2 separate regions of the Homo sapiens genome follow, and region 1 is linked to region 2. The links are contacts of gene promoters, found by promoter capture Hi-C in blood cells and fetal thymus (Javierre and others, 2016). All regions are on one chromosome and are shown on one strand. The core of a region is centred on a gene start or on the middle of the fragment in contact, and the rest is flanking DNA. Distances in the headings are between cores, read along the strand shown.

The links. Contacts are between HindIII fragments. The CHiCAGO score rates a contact against its expected background, and 5 or more counts as called.
Region 1: a fragment that was not itself captured here is called in contact with the fragment with the promoter of BNC1 in region 2 in 1 of 17 cell types (M2 macrophages); the score reaches 5.7 in M2 macrophages.

What each region holds. Positions count from the first base shown.
Region 1 is chr15:83,550,996-83,556,598 of GRCh38, reverse strand. The region is part of intron 1 of SH3GL3 (SH3 domain containing GRB2 like 3, endophilin A3); the gene reads right to left. Among named protein-coding and RNA genes, the nearest start is that of ADAMTSL3, 100 kb to the left of the region's middle. The HindIII fragment of the contact is 4,363 bases long and covers 511-4,873 here.
Region 2 is chr15:83,282,533-83,287,807 of GRCh38, reverse strand. BNC1 (basonuclin zinc finger protein 1) reads left to right here and starts at 3,144. Exons shown (of 5, transcript NM_001717.4): 1 at 3,144-3,278. The coding sequence starts at 3,180. It overlaps BNC1-AS1 (BNC1 antisense RNA 1), which reads right to left and starts at 3,796. Exons shown (of 3, transcript XR_932542.3): 1 at 3,714-3,796. RefSeq lists enhancers at 1,983-2,483, 3,253-3,753. The HindIII fragment of the contact is 5,658 bases long and covers 1-3,974 here.

The DNA.
Region 1 (5,603 bases), core at 1,443-3,942, 270 kb before region 2:
AATCCCTTTGGCTTGGAGAGTTGGACCCGAAATCCCTTTAATCCGAACGAGTTCGCACTTGTTCAGGTTTTACTTGTTCTATTTTCAGAAACCAAAATGTCTAATAGAAGGAGTAGTGTTTCTACTTTCAAGAACAGAAACTAGTGACATGAATATATCTTGTTTGAAAAGACAACATATGGGATCATTTTCAACAGGAGTCACAGGTTAAGAGTCATGATCATTCGTTTCTGCTTTTCCTGAATTTCCCAGTGGTGTTTACTGTTTTGATACATTAAGTATAAATACACATATAGCATTAGCTGTTTAGGCCACGTAATTATATTTCAGAGGTCAGTCAATGAACAAATATTGTTTGTTGAGCATCTACTATGTGCAGGGACATGACTGGTACTTGGGATAGAAAGATAAAAAAAGATAGACGTGATTCCTACAGGGCACCTGGCCTCCTTCCAAGGTTACAAGGTTATTTCCTCTAGGTGCTGGAAGCTAAATATAAATACTCAAGCTTCTATTTCTGGTGAAGATGACTATTCAAATTCAACTCCGATGCACTCCCTATGCTCTGAATACAAATCAAGGATAGATTAAATATCAAAATATGCACTCTTTATGCCTTGAATACATAGCAAGGATAAATTAAATATCAAAAAAAGAAAACCAGAAAGATAAGCAATGCTCAAAAACAGAATAAACATTTTTGTGAATCTGAAAATGAACAGAAACACAACATGATGAACAAGGTTGAAGCCTCGGGCCTGCTGGGCTTCTTGCCTGCACACAGGCTATGACAGCCAGCAGTCTGGTTCCTGCTGAGTACAAAAGGATCTAAAAGTGCTCCATGAGACCAGAGTCTGGGTTCAAGTTCTGCTTACAGCTGGGGATGGAAAAGCAAATGAGGCTGGGAAAAAAAATTCAGATGTAAACCCCTGTCTGATGCTACCACATGTGGCAATCTGCAGGCCCAAGGAGACTGAAGAACAAAGAATCAGTCAAGTCACATCCCCACCCCCTCCAGCTCTGTGACTGGATCCAGATAGCCCCAATATCACCACAGAACAGAAACCACGGTTTTGTACTGGGGCCTTGGGAAGCTGGGTGGAAGAAGCCACAATCACTAGAGAGAAGTGAGCACAAGAAGTTGGAATTAAAATTCATCCTAGATCTAAATTCCAAGGCACATGAATAAAATATAACACCAAGAAAGAGAGCCGACAAAATCACATAACATAACATGAATTCACTTCTAGAGAAAACGGTTTTATGAAACAATATAGACTTTTTAATGTGTGTTTAGGATATTATTAAAATGATAGATAAAGGAATAACTTCTATTAATGAAGAGCAAACAATTATACAAAAGGGAAGAAATTTTCAAGATAGACATAAAACATTAGAAACAAAAAGTATTATATAGTCATAAAAATGAAAAACCCAATAGATGGGACAAACTCCAGCCTGGGCGCAATCAGGAAAGAACTGGTAAGCTGGAAAATATTAAGGAACTTAAAGAACATAAAATAAACAGAGATGAAGAGTTTTTTTAAGGAAATATCAGTTAATAGATATGAAGGATAAGTGAGAGATTCCAAGATATATCCAACAGGCACTCCAGAAAAAAACAACAGAATATAGGAGAATCAATATTTACAAGTAAAATGGCTCTTTTATCTTCTGTAATTGAAGGAAAATAGGAGTCTACAGTTTGGAAGCACACTCAAGTACCATGCAAGATGAATATTAATTCACACCCAGACGCAGCAAAACCTCAAAAATAAACAATCCTAAAACTATCGCAGGGGAAAAAACATCCAAAGCAACAATAAGATTGACAGCAGATTTCTCTTCTGCAACAGCAGATGCCAGGGACAATGAAGGAATGGCATCAAAGTGTTAAGAAGAAATCGGCTAGGCACGGGATTACAGATCATGCCTGTAATCCCAGCACTTTGGGAGGTTGAGGCGGGTGGATCACCTGAGGTCAGGTGTTCAAAACCAGCCTGGCCAACATGGTGAAACCCTGTCTCTACTAAAAATACAAAAATTAGCCGGGTGTGGTGGCGCAATAAAAATCTAGAATTTTCTGTCTCCCTAAACTGTTGTTTAAGAGCAAGGCTGGGTGCAGTGGCTCATGCCTGTAATCCCAACAGTTTGGGAGGCCGAAGTGGTGGATCACATGAGGTCAGGAGTTTGAGACCAGCCTGTCCAACATGGAGAAACCCCGTCTCTACTAAAAACACAAAATTAGCTGGGTGTGGTGGCGCATGCCTGTAATCCCAGCTACTCAGGAGGCTGAGGCAGGAGAATCGCTTGAACCCGGGAGGTAGACATTGCGGTGAGCCGGGATCGCGCCATTGCACTCCAGTCTGGGCAATAAGAGTGAAATTCCGTCTCAAAAAAAAAATCAGCTGGATGTGGTGGCACGTGCCTATAATCTCAGCCACTCAGAAGACTGAGGTGGGAGAATGGAAGAATCACTTGAACTCGGGAGGCAGAGGTTGCAATGAGCTGAGATCACACCACCGCACTCCAGCCTGAGTGACAAAGTGAGACTCTGTCTCAAAAAAAAAAAAAAAAAAGAGCGAGAGAAAGAAAATAAAGACATATTCAGACTTCACAGACTCAAATAACAGTGATGCTAAAGTATTACATCAAGGAAATAAAAACCGAACCAAGAGGGAAAGTATGGACCATAGGAAACAACGGTGAGAATAAAAATTGAGAAACTATGGTGGTAAATTTACCATTGAGTAAAGGCAAACAAACAAGCAAAAACCAATGTGTCTGAGTTTACACAAGGGCAAAATTAAAACCTTCAGCAATAATAACACAGAAATGGGGAAGGGTGTTGAGTGGATATTTCAAGCACACTAAGATTCATGTGTGTTCAGGAGGAGGTGAGAAATGGGTATAACTTTAGACATCATTACAATAATGCACAGCAGGTATCTGTGTTATATAACTAATGGTAACTCCTAAAAACACAAAACTATGATACCCATATAGAACTATGCATGTTATAACATAGTATCCATACCAGCACACTGTTAGAAAACCAGTATTTTTCAATCCAAAAGAAAACAAGGGAGAATAAAGGGAGAGGGAGGAAGAAGGAATGGCAAACAGAAACCACAAAATCAGATAGTAATAAGTCTAAATAGATCAGTAATGATCATCTATATAATTGGATTAAATTCAACATACTAAATAATAATAGAGTGAATTTTAACAATCTAGCTATATACATCTTCTAAGAGTCACAACTAAAACACAACACATAGAAAGACTGAAAAGACAAAATGTACATACTAGGAAAATGCTAATCAAAATAAAGCCTGCAGCAGTAATATCAGACAAGAGCTACCTGTCTTTGTTTTTTGTTTTTTTGAGACAGGGTCTCGCTTTGTTGCCCAGGCTGGAGTACAGTGGTGTGATCTCAGGAGTAGCTGAGACCACAGGTGCACAGCATCATGCCTGGCTCATTTTTGTATTTTTGTAGAGATGGGGTTTCTCTATGTTGCCCAGGCTGGTCTTGAGCTCCAAGGTTCAAGCGATCCTCCTGCCTCCACCTCCTAAAGTGCTGGGATTTCAGATATGAGCCACTGTGCCTGACCTAAGAAATACCTTCCTAAGGCAAAGCATTAATAGGAATAGAGACTCAATGTAATAATAAAAGGAGCAATCCACCAAAATTTTTATAATAATGATATTGTTTCCACTATTAGTATAACCTCCAAAAAATATAAAGCAAAACTGAAATAGTGAAACTGATAAACCCACAATTACAGCAGGAGATTTAACACAACTCCATCAGAAAACTGACATATCAAACATGATAAAAAATTGAAAAAGATATTGATTATCTGAATGACCAAAATAATAACCTTGGTCAACTATTATGCACATATACCTATATCCCCCAGCCAATAAATTTAAAAAATGTATATTCCTTGCAAGTACAGATAGAACATTACAAAAACTGACCATATATTATGTTGCTGCAAAATATTATAAGTAGTGGCAAAAACCACAATTACTTTTGCACCAACCTAATACTACGTAACAAAGTCAATCAATACCATATAGAGCATGTTTATTAGGTTTTGGGGTTTTTTAACCATAATGCAATTAAGTTAGGAACCAACAATAAAAATAAGTATATCAGCACAAAATTTTAAAATTCTGTCCTAAATAACAGATTAAAAAGAAAACCCCAATAGAAATTACCAAAAAATTTAACAACAATAAAAATATTATACATCAAAATCTGTGGTATGCAGCTAAAGCTGTATTCAAAAATCATTGTATAACCTTAAATACATTTCAAAGAACACCTCAATTTAATGTTTCAAACTGACACCACGTCATTCAATCTAATTTCTGAAACATCTAATATCTCAGGTTGGAAAGTCTACCAACTGTGCCAATTTGCTAGAGATGCAAAGATCAGTCACTCTCACAGGCCCACTGGAAAGCAGAAACACAAACAGCAATCCACAATGAGATCAATACTATTCTGTAATAGAGATGCAGAACTTGCCATTAAAACCCAGATGGAAGGAAGCAATTATATAAATGAGAAGGTGCCAAGAAAGTTCCAGAACAAAGCCTAGTAGGATATATGGAGTTCACCAGGGAGATAAGAAGAAAAGTGGCATTTCTGTCAGAAAGAATAGTATAAGCAAAGAAATGGCTGATTAAAAAATAGAGAGTCCAAATAGATCAGTAATGATTATCTACACAATTGGATTACATTCAACATACTAAATAATACTAGAGTGGATTTTAAAAAATCCAGCTATATGCAGCTTCTAAGAGATGCACACAACATAACAGGAAACAGCATAATAATTCAGCAAGGGTAACAGAAGCTTAAATGAAAAGGAGCAGACAGGCATACACTCAGGGGCCAGACCATGGGGCTAAACTTAATTCTGGGGACAATGGAGACTTTTAGAAAGGTGAGTGATAAGAACAGATCTGAGTTTCAGAAAGATTAGTCAAGTGGGCCATGAGATAATGGACTGGAGAGGAACCAGAAGGTGGACAGGCAGATCGGTTAGGCGATGACAGGGGACACATAGTTTGAAGAGGTGGAGTGGGGAAAAATGCCAAAATTACATTCTAAAACCCTCTTAATTACCTTCTTCAGCTTCAAACACAAGCTACCCTCACTCACCTATTCAGCTTCCCCATCACAAATATCGCACCTGACCTTGGCTCACTAGACAGAAGTTGCAAATCAAAAATACAAATGGGTGGCTACTCAATGTGGCTCGTGTGTTCTTCCCCCAGTGGAAAAGAAGATTTATGCTGCAAATTAGACCTATCTCAGGTTGCCTTGGTGCTACAGTCAGAGATAAAATCCTTGTTCACCATCTACTTCTTGGCAGCTTTAATTTTGTCAATAACAGGAAAATGAAAACTATTTTCAAAGCCTACAACCGAGCAGTGACAAATTATAAAAGAAATTTATTTGGGAAACGTGAAGCTTTTGCATTTGGTGTTTTGTCTAGATGTGTTGGGTTTTTAATGGTGAATGTTAACACAGCCTTGGCTGCCTTCTCGTGCAAATATCTGTTTTCAAAGAAACCTTGGCGTCT
Region 2 (5,275 bases), core at 1,895-4,394:
GCCCACATTCCTGGCTGATGACAAGTAGAGTTAACTACTGCCCACTTCAGACAGGCACTGGCTCTGGGTTCACATGGCCCCCCACCTCCCCACTTCCCCCTGACTCAGCCTGCCCAGCCCCTCAGCATTTGTCATTGATTCTCAGGATGGAGAGTGACAACACATTCACTCTGGGAAATGCCTCAGTCAGAGACACAGCAACCTAATCAAGCCCTGCATCTCAGAAGAGCTGATTCTTACCTCCTTATCATCAGGTCACAAAGATTTCATTATTTTGTATCTTCTCAATCTTTCCAATTTTAATAAAGTTTCTTTTAGTACTTGATAATGTAAAGTTAGGGAAGACAATCTGTTTTTATCACTTGCCAAGACAAAGAACTTGCCACAAAAGAAAATGGCAAGGTTGAAACATAGAAGCAAAACGTGAGGACTTTGCAAGAGCAGGATGGGCTCTCAGAGATGCTCTCATTTGCCAGATGAAAAAGGTGAGGTCTAGAGGAGGGAAAGGCCATACCAGACCCCACTGGTAACCAGCAGGAAAACAGGAAGATGGTCTGGGTAGTCTTTACCCAGCCAGTACCACACTCCTGTCTACAGGCACAGGTGGTTTCTCTGTTCCTGTTTCTACTTAACATTTCCAGGGAATGGCAGAGAAGCCCATCAGACCTGAGAAATAAATTTGAGGACTGATGTCAGAGGTCACATGGTACTATCAGGTACATGATTTAAAATGAAACTGCAAAAGATTAATTAGTAATTTTTATCTCGACCTACTGATTCCCTATATGTCGGTCCAAATTGTCACATTTGAAAAAAATGTATCTGTCGATCCCAACAGTACATGTTGGAAGAGGCAGCTTGTTTTCATGTTTTCAAATTATGTACTGCCAGAATCCTTCTTGTGTTTGTAGCCAGGAATAGAGTTACACAGTTGATTCTGATATTTGTTGCTAGCAGAAAGTTTTACTAAAACACATATAATTTAGTTGCAATTAATATAAAGATAATGACCAAAACTTTCAATTGGACAGATTAAAGTTATTGAAGTGGGCCACCGCCTGGGACATAGACATTGTGGTGTATTTATAATAGGCATAGGTGGCATTCAGTAATATTGTCATCAAGGATCTCTCTTGGTTACAATATTATTGTAGGTAACAAATTTAAGTTAATCCAGAAATTGGTTTTAGATGCAGCAGAAAGGAAAGGGGGAGAGGGTTTGCAGAACAGAGACTATTTTATTTAGTCCTACCAATCTGGCCTGAGACAGGCTTTCATATCTGCTTTTATAGAGAAGAAAAGAGGGGCCAAGAAGGCTGACTTCCTCAGCCAGTTTCCAGTTGCTAGGAATGAGCTATCCCTGGGTCACTATGACTGCAAAACCAGAGGTTTATCTGCTACCGTATCTCATAGCACAGAAGCCACTAAGATGAGTAACCACCAAAGGAATTAAGACAAGCACACATCACAACTAGGCTACACAATGCTACTGGCACGATGAAAGAGGCAGAAAAAAGTGCCTGGGGGTCACAACAGGGCAAAAGCACATCGAGTGGAGGCTTGGTGGATCAGGGAAGGTTTCTGAGATGTGGTGACATTCCAGAAAGTCCTTCAAAGATGCACTGTGTTACAACAAACAGAGAAGGAGGTGTTAGAAGAAAGGCCTCAATACGGGGGCACGGAGGAATGAGAGGTAAGCAGTTTAGATGCGGAATGAATCTAGCAAAGCTACATCAAGAAGTTAGCCACGTGAAAAAAAAAAAAAAGAATCTCCTCCCACGGCAAGGTCCATCACGTGAGGCCAGGAGACTTCAAGCCTACAAGGAAAGGCGCCACACATCAGGCCCAGGACACTCACCTGTGTGTCCACCCCAGGAGAGGCAGAAGGACCCGCTGGACCCCAGGACGCCAGGACGCCCAGACACCCACACATTCTTCCTCGTACACCTTGTTCCCTCCTTTCCCTTCTCTTCCCTTCAGAAGCCTTCCACCTGCCTGTGCCTTCCATAGCCACAACCAGGCACACTCTGGGTGGCTGAGGGCAACTCACTTCATCTTCCTTTTCCTCTCAGAGAGGGAAGGAAGAGCTTTGTTTCCTTTTCAAGGATCCCCACCAGCAGCAAGGCAGGTGGAAGAAACTGAGGGAAGAGGAAGCAGGACCCCCGCCGCCCCCCCAGTCTAGCCTTTACAGACTCCTTTTAAGGAGCTGAAGAGGTTGGGAGAGGCTTGCCCTGCCCCGGGGCAGCAGAAACCCGGGCGCTGCTGCAGCAGCTGTGGGCGATCTCCGTCAGCTCCTGGGCTCCAGGATCCTGCGGCCTCAGCCCCTCCGCGTCTACTCTCGGGGCCACCACCTCCAGTTGGCTTCTCCAGGGCACTTCATTTCATTCCGTCCCTAGCATCCAATAAGACGCGAAAAACTTAATCCCATTTTACAACTGAAGCCACTGAGGCCCAGAGAGCAAAGCCATTTGTCCTGGGAAAGTGGTCAAGCTGGGACTTTGACTCTTCAGACCACCCAAGGGAAGGGGTGTGTGTGTGTGTGTGTGTGTGTGTGCGTGTGCGGTGGGGGGCGCTTGTTTTGAGTTCTTAAGAAAACCTCCTGGCGACCCCCTTCTTCCACATCCCAAGACGCTCGTCCCGCACTTTCTCGGGAATGAGGTTTCTGCAGGCGAGGGCGGCGCTGCCTTCTTCCTCCGCGGCAGTGAGACCCCGAGGGCGCCCCAGGGTAGGAGGGGAGGCCGAATCATCTCCTGAGAAGAGCGCCAGAGAACTTCAGAGCGTTTCGCCCTTCCCCGGGAGAGGCAAACACCGACACGTCTGTGTCTTTTACCAACAAGTGCCTTCAAGCCCGGCGGGGGCAGACACCTCCGCGCCGGCCGCCGGCGAGGTCTCCGCGGTCTGCGGGGGCCACGGCCTCGCCTCAGCTGCGCTGATTTAGGGCGTTATCCGGTCCCGGGGCGGGAGGCGGCCTCCCGGGCGGCGAAGCAGCGCCCGCGGCGTGGGGCGACCGCGCGGTGGGCGGAGGGGCAGGGGGAGGGGCGGAGAGGCGTCCCCGGGGCGCAGGGGGCGGGCGTGCGGGCACACGCGGTGCGCGGCGGGGGCGGCCATCGTGCTGCGCAGCCTGGGCGCTTGGGGAGCCGCCCACTTCGCCGGGTCGCGCCCCGACGGCCGGAGCGTGGATGCGGCGGCGCCCGCCGAGCCGGGGCGGACGCGGGGCGGCCCGGGCCCGGGAGACGCGCCGGCAGCCCCGGCACCGCAGCGGTCGCAGGATGGCCGAGGTAAGCGCGGCGCCCTCCGCGGGCGCGGGGATTCTCTGTGCGCGGAGCAGGCGGCCCGGGACGCCGCTGGGCTCCGGCTCCCGTGGGTACCCGAGGGCCACCTCCCGAGGGCCAGCTGGCTACCTGCGCGGCAGCGCGGCCCCGAGGCGCGGCGGGAGGGACCGTGGTCTCCGGCCGGGAGGCGGCGGCGGGGGGGTTGGGGCTCTGGGACCCGTCCCTGCCCGACGTCCCGGAGCTGGCAAACGGTCTCCGCGCCGGATCTGCGGGCGCGTCGGAGGTGCCGGCGGGCCAGCCTGTGGAAATCGGCGGCGGCACTCGGCGGGTACCCTACACGCCACTCTCTGCCGCCCGCACCCCAGGCTTCAGCCCAGGACGTTAGGACTTGCTGTTTCCACCTGTGGGGGTCGACCCCTTCTTTTTTTTTTTTTCTTTTACCTCAGAATTTGTGAAACAGCTGATATTTCACACTGGCCGTCTTTCTCTCCGGGGATTGTTTCTCTGGAGAACGGGGCGCGCGGCAGCCTCCGGTCACTGAGGAGAACTGCGGAGACGGGCGGGCGGCCGTGAGGAGGCTCCCGTCCACTGCGGGACAAATCTTTTGTAGAGCAACAACAACAACAAAAAACAAAACAAACCCACAAGAACAAAAAACCCACGACTGAAAGTCGCTATTTAGACAGGTCCGGTCCGAAAGCTTCCGGGACACAGACCGAGCGTTGACCGTGTGCGGGGCAGATTTGACCAGCTTCACTGCGGACCCTGGAGTCCTTGTCGCGGCTCCGCGCGAGGTGGCCCGTCTTTCAGAAAGCGCTGGGACGGGGCTAAGGCGCTTGGGCTCTGGGCTGGAAGCCGGGCCGAGCCGCGTCCGCCGCTCCGAGGTTTTCCTGGAGTGACAGGAAGTGGGCCTGGGCTGCGGAGCCCGCGGCTGCGCCTGCCGCTTCCTTCAGGGGTTTGCATGGGAAGCGCCGGGACGGGAAGCCCCCGGCCCCCGACTTCGAGCTCCCTTAACAGTCCCGCCCAGCCTGGCCTTGGGACCTGCGAGCGCGTGGCTCGCCCGTCTCGGGAGCGCCCCGTCGGTTCCGTGCTGGGAGCCGGGCGGCGGCGGCGAGGCTGGGGGCCGCGGGCGGAGAAGGAGGAGGCCGCTGCGGGGTCTCCCGCTGCTCCTCCGGAGCCGCCGCCCAGACCCGGAGCCCCGCCGCCGCCTGGCTTTGCCGGAGTTCCTCGGGATTTGTCAGCCAGATGTGACAAGATTGTGGCGAGGCGAGTGAAGGAGATCTGATATTAATCAGCGCGTAGCTCCGAGCCAAACTTTCACAAATGCGGTGTAGAAACATGTTCTTCTCATTTAAGGCATCTCTTTGTGGCTGCGGGGCTGCCACCGCTCCGAGTCTGACAGTTAAGTGGAATGCCATCTCCCAGCCTTAATTGTGTGAGTGAAGTTGTGTGTGGTTGGGGGGCGGGGGGCATCAGACGCTCGGGGGTTCGGTAACGTCCCCTGGTTTTATGGCTGTGCTCGCCTCAGTCCTCTGAAGGCCAGGGCATTTAAAGCGGCCCAGACGCCTGGTCTCAGCCAGGCCTCTTGCTGTTAACACTTAAGGGGCCTAAAAGAGGCCCCACCGGTGTCCTGGGAATCCCTGTCAGGGAGAGAGAGAGTGTGTGTGTGAGGGAGAGAGAACATGTGTTACTGCATAGGACCACAGAGCAGATGTAGCAACAATTTTTTTAAAAATATATTCTTTTCATCAAAGCGACAAGATTTTGGCTTGACAGTAAGTGAATTGAAAAACAGCATTTGGCAGATTTTTTTTCATTCGCTGTTTATTTAATTTGCTATTCGATTTTATGGGATCTCTTGATAAGATTCTAAGTCTTCGACCCTGAGTTTGCAAATACGTGTTAATGTATTGAAACTTTTGTTCAGTGATGGATACACTGACTCTCTTTTCATTGATCCCTTCCCAGATTCGTTGATACATATTAAAACCTTGTTAAAATAG